Regions from separate parts of the Homo sapiens genome. Here region 1 is linked to region 2. The links are contacts of gene promoters, found by promoter capture Hi-C in blood cells and fetal thymus (Javierre and others, 2016). All regions are on one chromosome and are shown on one strand. Each heading gives the region's core, a stretch centred on a gene start or on the middle of the fragment in contact. The rest is flanking DNA. Distances are from core to core; before and after follow the strand shown.

The links. Contacts are between HindIII fragments. The CHiCAGO score rates a contact against its expected background, and 5 or more counts as called.
Region 1: a contact is called between a fragment that was not itself captured here and the fragment with the promoter of RBMXL2 in region 2, in 1 of 17 cell types (total CD4 T cells). The highest score is 5.1, in total CD4 T cells.

What each region holds. Positions count from the first base shown.
Region 1 is chr11:7,421,926-7,427,893 of GRCh38, reverse strand. All of the region lies in intron 6 of SYT9 (synaptotagmin 9), which reads right to left. Among named protein-coding and RNA genes, the nearest start is that of SYT9-AS1, 41 kb to the left of the region's middle. RefSeq lists a silencer at 4,744-4,803. The HindIII fragment of the contact is 6,285 bases long and covers 1,258-5,968 here.
Region 2 is chr11:7,087,577-7,093,801 of GRCh38, reverse strand. It overlaps RBMXL2 (RBMX like 2), which reads right to left and starts at 4,804. Exons shown (of 1, transcript NM_014469.5): 1 at 2,654-4,804. The coding sequence starts at 4,681. The coding sequence ends at 3,503. It also overlaps a transcript of NLRP14 not described here. The HindIII fragment of the contact is 13,917 bases long and covers 1-6,225 here.

The DNA.
Region 1 (5,968 bases), core at 3,151-5,650, 330 kb before region 2:
AATTGACACAAATTCTAACAGGTCTGTTAATGTTTTTCAGATCCTAAACTTGTAGTAGATTTTTATGTTCTCTGCAATCAGTTTTGCTTCAGCGGCCCTGCAGGTGTTTATGCGTGCTGGCATGCTAAATCTCACCATTCAAAATAGTTTATTTTTTACAACAAAATCTGAAGAATAATTTCTTCATTTTGTCAAAAAATACCCCATTCCTATTATTTTTCTCTTCTTTATCTTCACAGGTAGATGGGGCAAAGCATTACCTTGTGTAAAACTGCTGCTAAAATATATTCCTAGTGAGAAAGGTCAACTTGTGGGCTAAAGTCCTTGTCACCTCCTGATCAGTTTTCACTTAGGGCACAGCAGTCTGCCATTCACCATTGGGATCTCTGTGTGTTTCTTCTCTCTTATGAAAGGACATATTGAGCGCTCTAGGACTTGGCTGCCTACATCAAGTAGAGGGGGACCCTCATGATTCACTAAGGGGCCTCAGTTCTGAATATTTCTCATTATTCAAAAATGCAAAGCCATTGTCATTACGTGGCAGTTTATTGGAACCAAGGGAGGAATTGGTCCCTTTTCATGTTCTTCTCCTAAATAGAGAAAAGGTAATTAAAACTTGGAGCTTAATAAGGGCCATCTCTATTTGAACAGCCTAATACAAATCCATTCTCAATACCTTTTTACACCTTGTCTGAACTGACTTCTACTGTGTACTCCACTGCATGGGAATTCTGGAACTTTAGAACGAAGGGAACTCAATTCATTCTATATATATCTCATTCATTCATTTTTTTTTCATTTGTTCACCAAATGCTAACTCAATACCTACGTAACAGAGATAATGTTCTTATTGTCTGTAAATCAGAAAATGCATGCATTGAATAAACGCCATATATTCTTGGAAGCTGAGGGCTGATAACTCAAGGTAAATGATCAGCTAGTCTCCTATGAAATAAGTATCTTATTTCATGTTACATGTAGAAATGACCATGCAACTTTATCTTAAAGCCAGGCCTTATTGAGAAAAAGGGGATCCAAATTCCAAATGTTTCCTTACATGCTGAGAGGAAACCTTGGAGGTCTGAGCGTGAGTCATAGGTAGAGGGAAATCATGCTAAGATATATATTGTTTCCACCAGACAGGTAGAGGAAGCAGAGACCCTTTGGCAGAAGAGATACAGAGAAGAGAGGAGGAGAGGTTCTGGCTTTACCGTTCAGGCTTGAAACCCCAAGTTTAGATGGATTGAGGGGGAAGCTTAAGGCAAACATGACCCCTGGGCCAACACAGGCTAGAGGAACAATGTAGAAATGACCATGTAACTTTATAGGCATGAAGAAGATGCCTGTGATGGCACTGAGTCTCCTGTGGCTCCCTTGTGTGCCCAAATGCCTGAAGGATGTGAGAGTATTGGTTGTTAGAATTTCAGGGAATTCCACCAAGTGGGGAATGACTCTGTATTAAGGGCTGCAAAGAAAAGCTCCCAGGCCAAGCATTGAGTGGGAGGTGCTACCTGCCCTCAGGGATCCACAGGGACTTCAACAGCTGATGTGGGGTCTCATCAGCCTCAAGGTGGCCAAGTTTCTATGCTGAGACTATAGCCCACAGTTACACCAGCCATGATCCTCAGCAGCAGAGGTAGTGATGATGAAGTCTGATGCCCAAAGACAAGCAGAACAATATGCACAGTTCCAGCCAATGCCACGAGGTAGCCTTTGTACTTCCCTATACCTAGCTGGGAGGGAGGAAGGAAGGAGAGAGGAGACTCCTAGGAAGAGGAGAAAATAATTATCCCAAAGAGACTGACATAACCTGGAAAAGACCGAGAACTACTAATTAGCAAGATAAAGTTCATTTACCTCTTCCTGTTTCTTACCAAGATGGTATGTATCCTTTCAGATAATAAATAAATTTATGTTTTCTTGCCCTATTTTAATGTGATTTAAATGTTTCTTGTTTTTTCTGTTTTCATTCATAACAAAAATTTTGTTCTCAGAGACACTGAGACATGAGACACGATGCTGGACTATATTGGGGGGGAGCACCTCATCATATGGGCAAGATATTGCAGCAGCATGTAGCCCTCCACGTCCTGACTGCTCACTTCTCTTTCGCCATCCCCTAACACACGTATTAGGCTTTTGCTATGTTCATTTATCTAGCCCATAAGCCACTCCTTCAGAGGGCAATGCATGGAATTGGCAGCCTTGGTTCCCCACCAACTGACAGGGGTCTGGAATTCAGGTGTTTCCAAAGACCTGCAGTCTTGGGGGCCTTAATGCTTGCTGAGTAGCAGCACTTTCTAGGACTTTCCCTATTGTACGTTTCAGTCCATGCTTTTCTTTTTGTCTTGTCTCAGTGTTCTTCCCTGCTAGTCTGGTTCTCAACAAGACCCAAGCCCTGCAACACACCCAAATCCCCTTGATGGGAACCTGATTTCCTACGTGGCTTTTCCCAGTCACCCCATGCTCTCCCCACTCCCATCTTTCCTGGTGAATTGCTCCTTTCCTAAATCTGTTGTGAATAACAATTTGGCCACAGTGCTAAAGCCTCTCACTCCTCACTTTAAATTCCTTTGGGAAACAGTCATTCATGTTCATTTTAGACAATTTCCCTGTCCTGTGCGGACTCTTCTCAAGAAGTCTACTCCCAAAACTCCTGCTGAGGTAGGTCCAGGTCACATTTTCATGACCCCAGACCTACAGCAAATTGCACCGGGATGGACACCTAATCAAATCTTGGGCAATCAGATACATTCTCCTGGGAATATGTGGATCTCCAAGACTCCAGATAGGCCCTGCTGGACACTTGACAGATAATATCTAGAGATGGTTTACACGGGCTGCTTGTGTAACTACAAGTCTGGGTAACTGACAGTTGCTGTAGTCCTTTGACTCTAAGTTTATACCCTTCTAGAGGCTGAGGGTGATAAATGAGGGCTCTGTTTATGTCTGGGCATATTGTACCATAACTGCCTTCTGGTTATACTTGGCATTATGTAATTCTGAGTTGAAGAGGGGCAGGAGGCTCAATGAGCTGGTCCCAGCAGACAGTCAGACATGCAGAACTTTTGTAGCTGTATGTACGTGTATGCACAAAGGTTGAGCTTGGAGTGAGGCAGACATCCAAAATGGGGCACGCCTTGAGTAGAACTTTGGTGTTTGGAATCCTACACCTATGCCTATAGGATAATAGTGCTGATCTTGACTATATATTCTGATCGGATTCTCTTTCTTCTTTTAGAAAAGTGAAATTTCATTTAACCAGATAGTGTCTGTGTCTCGTCTTCCCACCAAACCAAGATTAGTACTTATTCATACAACAGATGTTACATGGCACTACACAGGGAAGCGATGAAAACTTGGAACTATTTCCTATTATTCTCCATGAGGCTTATGATGTTGGTCATCTTGACATACAGGAGGCAGGAAAGGTGTTGTGATATGGCCAGGCCGAAACCATCTTCTCTTGAATTGGTGGAGGAGGGTGCCGTGCTAAGGGAGCTCTTAGAGCTCTGTCATCTGAGGCCCTATGGAGGGGGTGCTCCGATTCCTAAGCCCTAGGCAGTCTGCTTGGGGGAGTTTTCACAGCTTTCCAAACCTTTGGCATCATGGGGAGTAAAGGGAGCCCTACTGGCTGACCTTTGAGTGTGCAGTGAATTCATCCAGAATTCCTGCGAGAGAAACGGATTTTTGAACTCACTGGCTTTGAAGATTCCATCTGCCACCTGCCCTGGCAAGGTCAGGGTGTATTGGATGCAACCCTGAGCAGGCTGCCAGATCTCTGCAGGGCTCAGAGTTTAGACCTAACCAATTCCTCAGCAGTGAAGAGCTTCTGCCAGGCCAGCCTCCCTCCATGCTAAATCCCAGGGCCCCCATCTTCGTTCTCTCTCCCTCTCTCTCTGTCTTCCATACACACATGCTCATGAGTGCACACTCACATACTCTGTTATCATGAGCACTGAGATTTAATTGCTGGTTTTTGTTTTAAAGAAGACATTTAAAAGGTTCTTAGAGAGCATAACAGCAGCCTGTCTTTAAGGCCAAGGAAAAGAGGAAAGAAACAAAACTTAAATATGTGCATCTGTGTTTAGCCAAGTACTGGATGACCCCTTCCCCCCACTCTGAGATGATGGCTCACTGGGGTGCAGGAGTGGTGGATTCCCGGCCTTTCTCTTATTCTCCATGACACACATGGATGATATTTCTTCACAGGACATAGGCCCATAAGGACACACAGCAGCCCCTCAGAATGTGGGGCATACATAATAACAACTATAACTGAAAACTTTACTGAGTGTTTATTATATATCAGCTACAATGCTGCATTTCATATAAATAGATTGTTTAATCCTCACCATCCCTCTTGTGAGACAAGCACTGTTATGGCCACTTTACAGATGAGAACACTGAGGTTCAGAAGGGGAAAAACAAACATCTAGTGAGTGGCAGGACAGCAATTCGAATATAGGTCCTTCCAACTCCAAAGTGAATGTTTCTGGCCAGTCTGCCTGTTGCCTCCTCCATCCTTACAGCTGCTAACGAAGCATGGCCAACCTCTCCAATACTGTTTTTCATCTCATCTGGTACCATTGCCCCAATTCTGCCAGCTCAATGTTCATTTTTAAAAGAAAAAGCATCACTTCCTCTCTCAGGATGGATCTGGAGTCCCAGACGTGTACTTCAAAGAGACAGGAAGCAACGGGGAAGAGGCAGCCTCCCTCTGCCTCTGCTTATAGGAAGGTTTGCCCTCCCCCTGCTTATATGAAGGCTTGCCCTTCATATAAGCCCCACAGGCATTTCATTTCCTTAGTTCTGCTGTAACAGTTCAGAAATGACCATTGTATTGGCCAAAGTAATTTTAGCCGCTGTAACAAATGACTTCTAAGTTTCAGTGGTTTAACCCTAATGGCATTTACTTTTCAGTTACATAACTGTGGAGCACAGATTTCCAAAAAGCTGAGTGTTTGGGGTTTGAGGAATATCTCTCAGGTGAATGAATTTATATCACACTTTTTCTCCACAGTGAAGGAAAAGGCCTCCAAGGCCTGCTCCCTGCACTCTCCTTTGTGTAACACGTGCATATACTGCCACTCAGGGACCCGTGTGCAACACTCCACCCAGGACTACTCCCCTGCCCAGGTCACTGAAAAAAAACTGCTTGTGCATGAATCAGGGCTCACCTCTCAGCCCTACACCACACACCTCATCCTTACTCCTTTCTCATTTCTTGTTTCCTGAGAAGCACAGAGCTTTAACACTCTCTGATACTCCTAATTACCAATAAGAATTAAAGTCAGCAATGGCTCATAAGGGTGCAAAAAGTCTATTACAACTCTTCTAAATGCCACTGCTAGTGACAGGCCCCCAAAATCTAATGAGCCCACAGATGGACTCCTTTGAGAATTCCACCAGGAGCTGAAGAAGTGAGGTATAGTTCAGTGAGCACCAGTCTCCAGCTCCTTCTCAAGTGGCTCATAGATCCTGTGGGTCTCCCTTAGGGATCAATTTTGCTCCTATGGCCCACGGGCAGAACTATCCTTAAGAACCCGCAAATTAGGGGGTCCTAGGCTCTTCTTGAATACATCTGGGTGCCCTGATGGTTAGAATCCATAAACCCTGTCCTGCCTTCTCCTTCCTGCCCCACTTCCAACAAAGATGTCCCTTGGTTCCCCTGTCTGGGTTTGGGGCCTCTCTGCCTCTCTGCCTCTCCACAGCCGCCCTGTGTTCACTTCAACCAGACTCACCTGACTATCAATGGCAGGGGTGCCCACACTGGGTGAGGCTCTAGTCTTGGCCTCTCAGATGGCTTTGCATGGAAGAGAGCTTCCTGCACCAGGAGAACAGAGGAAAGCTCTCTGCCTGGAACCCACGCATCCTCAGTAAATAACTGCTGCTGCCCTCCTGGCTTTCCAGTTCCCGGGGGCTCAGTTCTCTTTACTTATTGAGAGCATGAAGGAGAGATGCTTCA
Region 2 (6,225 bases), core at 3,555-6,054:
ACAACCTTTGTATGCTATAATCTCTAAAATTAACTCACTGAACTCCAGTGAGTCTTTATTTTCCTAATGTTAATACTTTGTTTTTATTAATAGTTTCAATATTCAGGAGATTACTCTTCAGAAACAGCTTGTTGATTGGAAAACGTTTTTCATCGCTATTACACTTCAAAACAGACAACAAAAGGAAAAACTGCACCTTCCTCTAAGATCTGGTTCTCAGGTATTGCCGGTTCTACCCTTGAGATTATGGTAAACAAGCTGTGGGCACAGTCCGAGATAGAAAGGTTTTAAAAACTCATTTAAATAGAATAAGGCATCACCCATATTGATGAAAGAACAAAGCCAGGAGAAAGAATCATTGCCAAGATAAGAATGTTGCAGCTGAGTTTCAGCATATTAATAACAAACATTTTTCAGTAATTACATGCTGGGTGGTATGCTAAGCTCTATTTTTTAATATTAAAATGTGTATTATAAAATATTTTGAACTTACGGAATAAGAGATGCCAATGTACAGACCACAGAAATTTAAGATGTTAAACTTGTCAGTTTTGCTTAAGAGCCATCACTTTTAAAGACATAAAACATTCAGCTAAAGTTCACTCCTCCTCCCATCTTTTTCCTTTCCTCTTAACTCTAAATATCCTGATTTTTCATGCTATCATTCAAATCCTATTTTGTTTACTATACCTATATTTATGCGATTCGCCTTTTTCACCAAATATTAATATTTTCATATTTATCATAATGATACATGTAGACCTGGCTGATTCATATTAGCTTCTACACTGAGCTTCATCATAAATCTCAGTTGATCCACTCCAGGTAGACTACTTTTGTTGTAAACATTCAAAGGGTGCTTTACTGACCAATCTTGTGCGTATCTCCTTGTGAATATGCACAAATTTCTTTAAGTCCATTCCTTGAAATGGAATTTCTGGGTCGTAAAGTATGCATCCTCCAACTTTACTAGGCATTGCTAAAATTATCTCCAAAATGATTGTATCAATTTATACATCTATCAAAAATGTAAGTCTTTGTCCATTTTTTTCTTGTTTTTTTCTTATTATTGATTTTTAAGCATTCTTTTGGAAGTCATTTCAATGTAAATATATTCTTCCAATATTATGGCTTGAAATTTCACTTTGTTAATAGTCACTTTTATCATTAAAATACCTTAATAATAATATGGAAAATTTTATCAATATTTTCCAAGTTTGTACTTTTTGTCTTAAAACGGAATTCTCAACCCCACCGTGGTGTATACATTTCTTCACTTTCTTCTAAGTGTTTAAAAATTTCCTCTTCACATTTAAATCTTCAAACCATCTGGAATGTATTTTTGTGTATGCTGTTATGGAATCTCACTTTTAACAAATAGTCTTTTTTTTTTAGAATTTCATTTTGCCACCAATGACTTTTAAAATTACCTCTGTTGCATAATGTGACAGAAGTGGACTTGTTTCTAGGATCACAGTTTTGGTCTATTGGTCTGTCTATCCTTGTTTGCTGACATCATACAATTAAATTGCTAGAGCTTTGTAATAAGTCTTGGTATCTGTAGGATGAGTCCTTCCTAACAACTGTTCATCTGAATTGATTTGGCTTTTCTTGCTCTTTATTCCACCATGCAAATTTGAAGATTAGCTATATCTCCCATTAGTGTCTCTTTTCTAAATACTTGTTTCTTAATAATTTGTTGGTGGTGAAATGAAGCTATTGATTTTTTGTGGTTGGTTTACCAAATCTTTTATTATTCCATCATTGATCAACACAAATAAATGGTGTTATTCGGGAAGAGGGGAGGGGAGCTGTGTGAAAAAAATCATGAAGTGACTTCATTTGAAGTTGTATTGTTTTTCCAAATTAATTTGATGAGGTTGAGAATAGTTGATAATGAAGTCCTCCCAACCATGAGTATATCAATCTCTTATAGTTCTTCTTTTATGTCCTTTAATAAAGATTAATTTTTTCATAAAGATCTTACATATTTTTGTTAGATTAATTCCTGGATCATTTTTTAGCTATTTCTTGCATTTGCTCTTCTGAGCCACTAGTGTGTCCTCTCCTTTAATGCACCTACTTTATTATTGTCAAAAAAAATCATGTTGTTAAAAGTTGTGTATGTGTGTTGCATTCAGATCCCTTTAAGTACTTTTTGCTGTTGTTCCCTTATCTGTTTCCTCCAGCAATTATTACACTGAACATGGGTCATCAACCTTAACCCCATCCTTCTTTCTCTGGTTGCTACAGTCCCTTGACTGTACAATTACCTTTCTCACAGATAAATTGGGGAATCCACAGGTGCTGAATGGAAAAGATGTTTAAGAGGAAACTTACGTTCCTCTTGACAGATCTTGGAGAAAGACTCTAATCTTTTTCTGTTGAAGCCCTTCTCCCCACCTTAAAACTAGGAAACAACCCATCCAACCCCTCGCCTTTTGTGGACAGGAAAACCAGCCCCTTCATGCCAGTTTGAGATCCTCAGAGGTTGAAACGCCAAGCTCTTTCAGGGATTCTCTGACCTTTGCTCCTGAGCTCTGAAGCTGCTCACTTTTGATTCCTCCACCCCTAAGGGAAGAAGCTCAATTCTCTCCACAGGACTCAGTGGCTGGCTCTAGAGCCAAAGGCAAGTAGCTTGGAGTTAGGAATGGAAGCCATTACGGTCCCCAAGTCGACCACTGATTTATTTTCTACTTGTTTCTTAATAAATTTGTTGGTAGTGAAAATGAATGCTATCAATTGAAGGATTTGGGATTTGCTTGTTTTGTAGCTTTGTGGTTGGTTGGCCAAACCTTTGATATAGTATTCCACTGTTGTTCAAAACATAGATAGTACTTTTGGGAGTGAGGGGACAGGTGATCCTGTAGATTCCCAAAGAAAAAGCAAAAAGGCAAAACATGGCCAACATTATCCATTTACTTTTCAGATTTACTGAGTGAAAATAATTTTCTTTACATAAACATTTGATCTAAATCACTTTTGTTGTTGTTGTTGCTGGTTGTTTGCTTTTTAATACTGGAAACAAAGATTCAGTTTGAAAGATACCCTGAAATCTTAAGAGTAGCATACACCAATCCCTCCCACTCTCCACCCAAAATCTAGTTGGTTTAAATGAGCAGAATGATCCGTTTTTCCATTTTAGGTGAGCAGATGTTTATCAAAGATCTTAGAACTGTTTGCCTCATTTATCAAGAAAATTTACAAGGGAAGAAGCCATTAATCGAATTTCTACTTGTAAATGTAAGAAGACTAGTACTCAGGTTCATATACTTTTAACAGGAGCTTGTTGAAAGAAACGTTAACAATTCCAAAACTAAACTAAACGAATTTTAAGTTTTTTCTCCCAAAAGCATAAAAATGGAGACGATCTTAACAGGAAATTCTTAAAAGGTAAAAACAACTCTTCCTTGTACTAGTCCTTGGGTAGTTACCATACAACAGGTTCTTCTTTTTGTTAGTTTCGTTGAAAAGGGATTTTTGGTCCCAAGTCTGTTCCTGCTTAGTATCTGCTCCGGCCTCCTCCTCTCTCCAAGCGGCCTCCTAGACGGCCTCCGCCCCTGGGCACCCTGCAGCCTGACCGGCTGTAAGAATCACGCTGGGGAGGGCAGCCCCTTTCCATGGACAGAGAGAGCCCACGATCTGGTCTGCCCACCCGGTGTCGGCCCCTCGAGTAGCGGTCGCTCCGGCCATAACTGCTGCTGTAACTGTCGCGGCCGCCGCTGTAGGCATCGGGTGAGTAGCCCCGGTACTCCTCGTAGCGGCCTCCTCCTCCGTAAGATGGCGGTGTCCCCCGTCCTGGGGCGGCGCCGCGCAGCTCTCCGTAGCTCTCAAAGGGCTCTCGATGGGAGCCTCTGCTCAGATGATCCCCGTAGTCACGGTCGCGACCTCCGTAGCCGTCTCGGTCGCTGTAGCCTCTCAAGGGACAGTCGTCCCGGACACTGGAGTGGCCGTAATCGCGGTGGGTGTACTCTCCGGGCGAGGGGGCAAAACCCCGGGGTTCGCGGTAGTCTCGGCTCGAGTAGCCGTCTCTGGACGAGTAGCCCTCATCCCGCGGGCCCAGGTAGGGGTCGCGGCGCGGGGGCAGCGGCTCCCGGCGCGGTGGGCCTGAGTAGCCGTCTCGCCCCCGCACGGCCAGGGCCCTCCCGCGCATTCCACCGCCGCTGCTGCGAGCCGGGCCCGACGGCGCGGCCCTCTTGGGGGGTGGGCCGACCCTGCGCGGCGGCGGCCCACGCTTCATGGGCATCGGGGCCCTGGAGGGCCGCAGGTCGAAATCCGCCGTGTAGCCGCCGTCATCATCGGGCCCGCCCCGGGATGGGGAACGCCGCGGGCCGCCGCCACCCCCGCGGGTTCCGCGCAGGAACCTCGGGCGACCGCGGCTGCGGGGAGGCGGCGGGCCCCGCCGGCTGCTCTCGAACGCCGGTTTGGTGGCCTGGGCCACCTTGATGGCCTTACCATCCAGGGACTTGCCGTTCATGTCTCTGGCGGCGGCCTTGGCGTCTGCGGGGCTTTCAAAGGTGACGAACGCGAAGCCCCTCGACTTGTTGGTTTCTCGGTCTTTCATCAGGAGCACCTCGACGATGCGGCCATACTTGCCAAACTCGGCTTCGAGGGCTTTCTCGTCGGTTTCGAGGTTGAGGCCCCCAATGAACAGCTTCCCCGGGCGATCCGCTTCAACCATGTTTGCCGGTCGAACGGTCGGTCAGTGGCGGTGGGAGGCGGTGAGGCGGCGCCAGTCGCAGCCTTCGAGCTCGCTCGTCGAGGGCGGCTCCTACTGGTCAGGCGGCGCCTAGTCGCCGAGTCCACGGAACCGCAGCCGGAGCCCCGCTGCAGGGCGCGCCCCTGCTGCCTGTGATTGGTCGGCTGTTTCCAGAGGGCCAATTCGCCGTCGGGAAAGTCGGCAGTTTTGTGTCTCCTTTTCAGTCTTTAACTTCCTGTTCACCTGACCCGGTCTTAACGGCTTCAATGGCCTCCTGAAAGCTCAGGGAAAAGCCGTTAGGTGGAAAAAAATTTTTTTCTATTAGTTTTAATGAGAACAATTGTAATGATCCCAAACCTAAGCTACCCAAACCATTTTCAAACAGAAAAAAATAGTATGAATTTTTTAAATTACTAAAATTATTAAGTTAAAAATCATTTTTCAATTATTGAAAAATAGAGTAATAACAGTTAACAAGTTTAAATTTTACCTTACTGATCTTTTTAAACTAATCAGCTTTTAGCCTCGTCTATCCTCTGTTTTGATTTTATTTGGTGCTATTGTCTTTATTCTTTCTACATTTATTGGATTTATTGTTTATATTATTTTGTTCTAATTTTTTAAATAAGACACTTAGCACATTAAGAGTTTAAAAAATGTTTCTTCTAATTGTTATATTTAAGGTTAAAACTTATTCTCTATGCACTGGTTAATATCATGCCTTGAGCTGTAATATATGTTGTTTTCATTGTTGTTCAGTTCCTAAGATTTTCTCATCTTTGTTATTTCCTTTTTGGACCATGTATTAAAGAAGTATGTTTGTAAATTTTCAAACATATGTGCCTGTTGGTTATTTTTTAATATGCTCTGTACGATATCCATTGTTTTTCGTTGAGACTTGCTTTGTGACCTAATATGGTGTAATTAATGTTCCATATATACTGAGCAGAAAGTGTATTCTCTAAATGTTGGACAAAGTTCTTTCTTATTTTCTGATATTTAAATCTTCCCTTTTCTAACTTGTTTTTTATTTGATAGAATTGCCAAACACTAGAACTGTCTTAAAATTTACCATAATTGTGGATTTGTAAATTTCTCTTTGTCTTTATGTCTGGTTTTTGCTTCATGTAATTTAAGGTTATATTGTGAGATATATAAAAATTGAGAATTGCTACGTATTTCTGGTGAATACCTTTTTTATGTAATGATCCTCCTTATTCGTAAAAACCTTTTTACCTTAGTCCATTTTGTGTGATGCTTATAACTTTCGGTACTTTTGCAATTTCTTCCTAAATCTTTGCTATCAGCCAAACCTTTCCTTCTTCCTTTTTTCCATCTTTCTTGCCTTTTCTTGTAGTAAGTGATTTGTCTTTGTTTCTTTTTCCTCCACTATGGAAGAAGTTATGCCTTCTATTTCTACTTTTTCGAATGACTGCCCTTAATGTTTTTATTGAATGCTAACTTAAAAATGCTAAGTTTATAAATTTACTTATAAAATCAAGTTTACTGCTTAATTTTACGTGTGT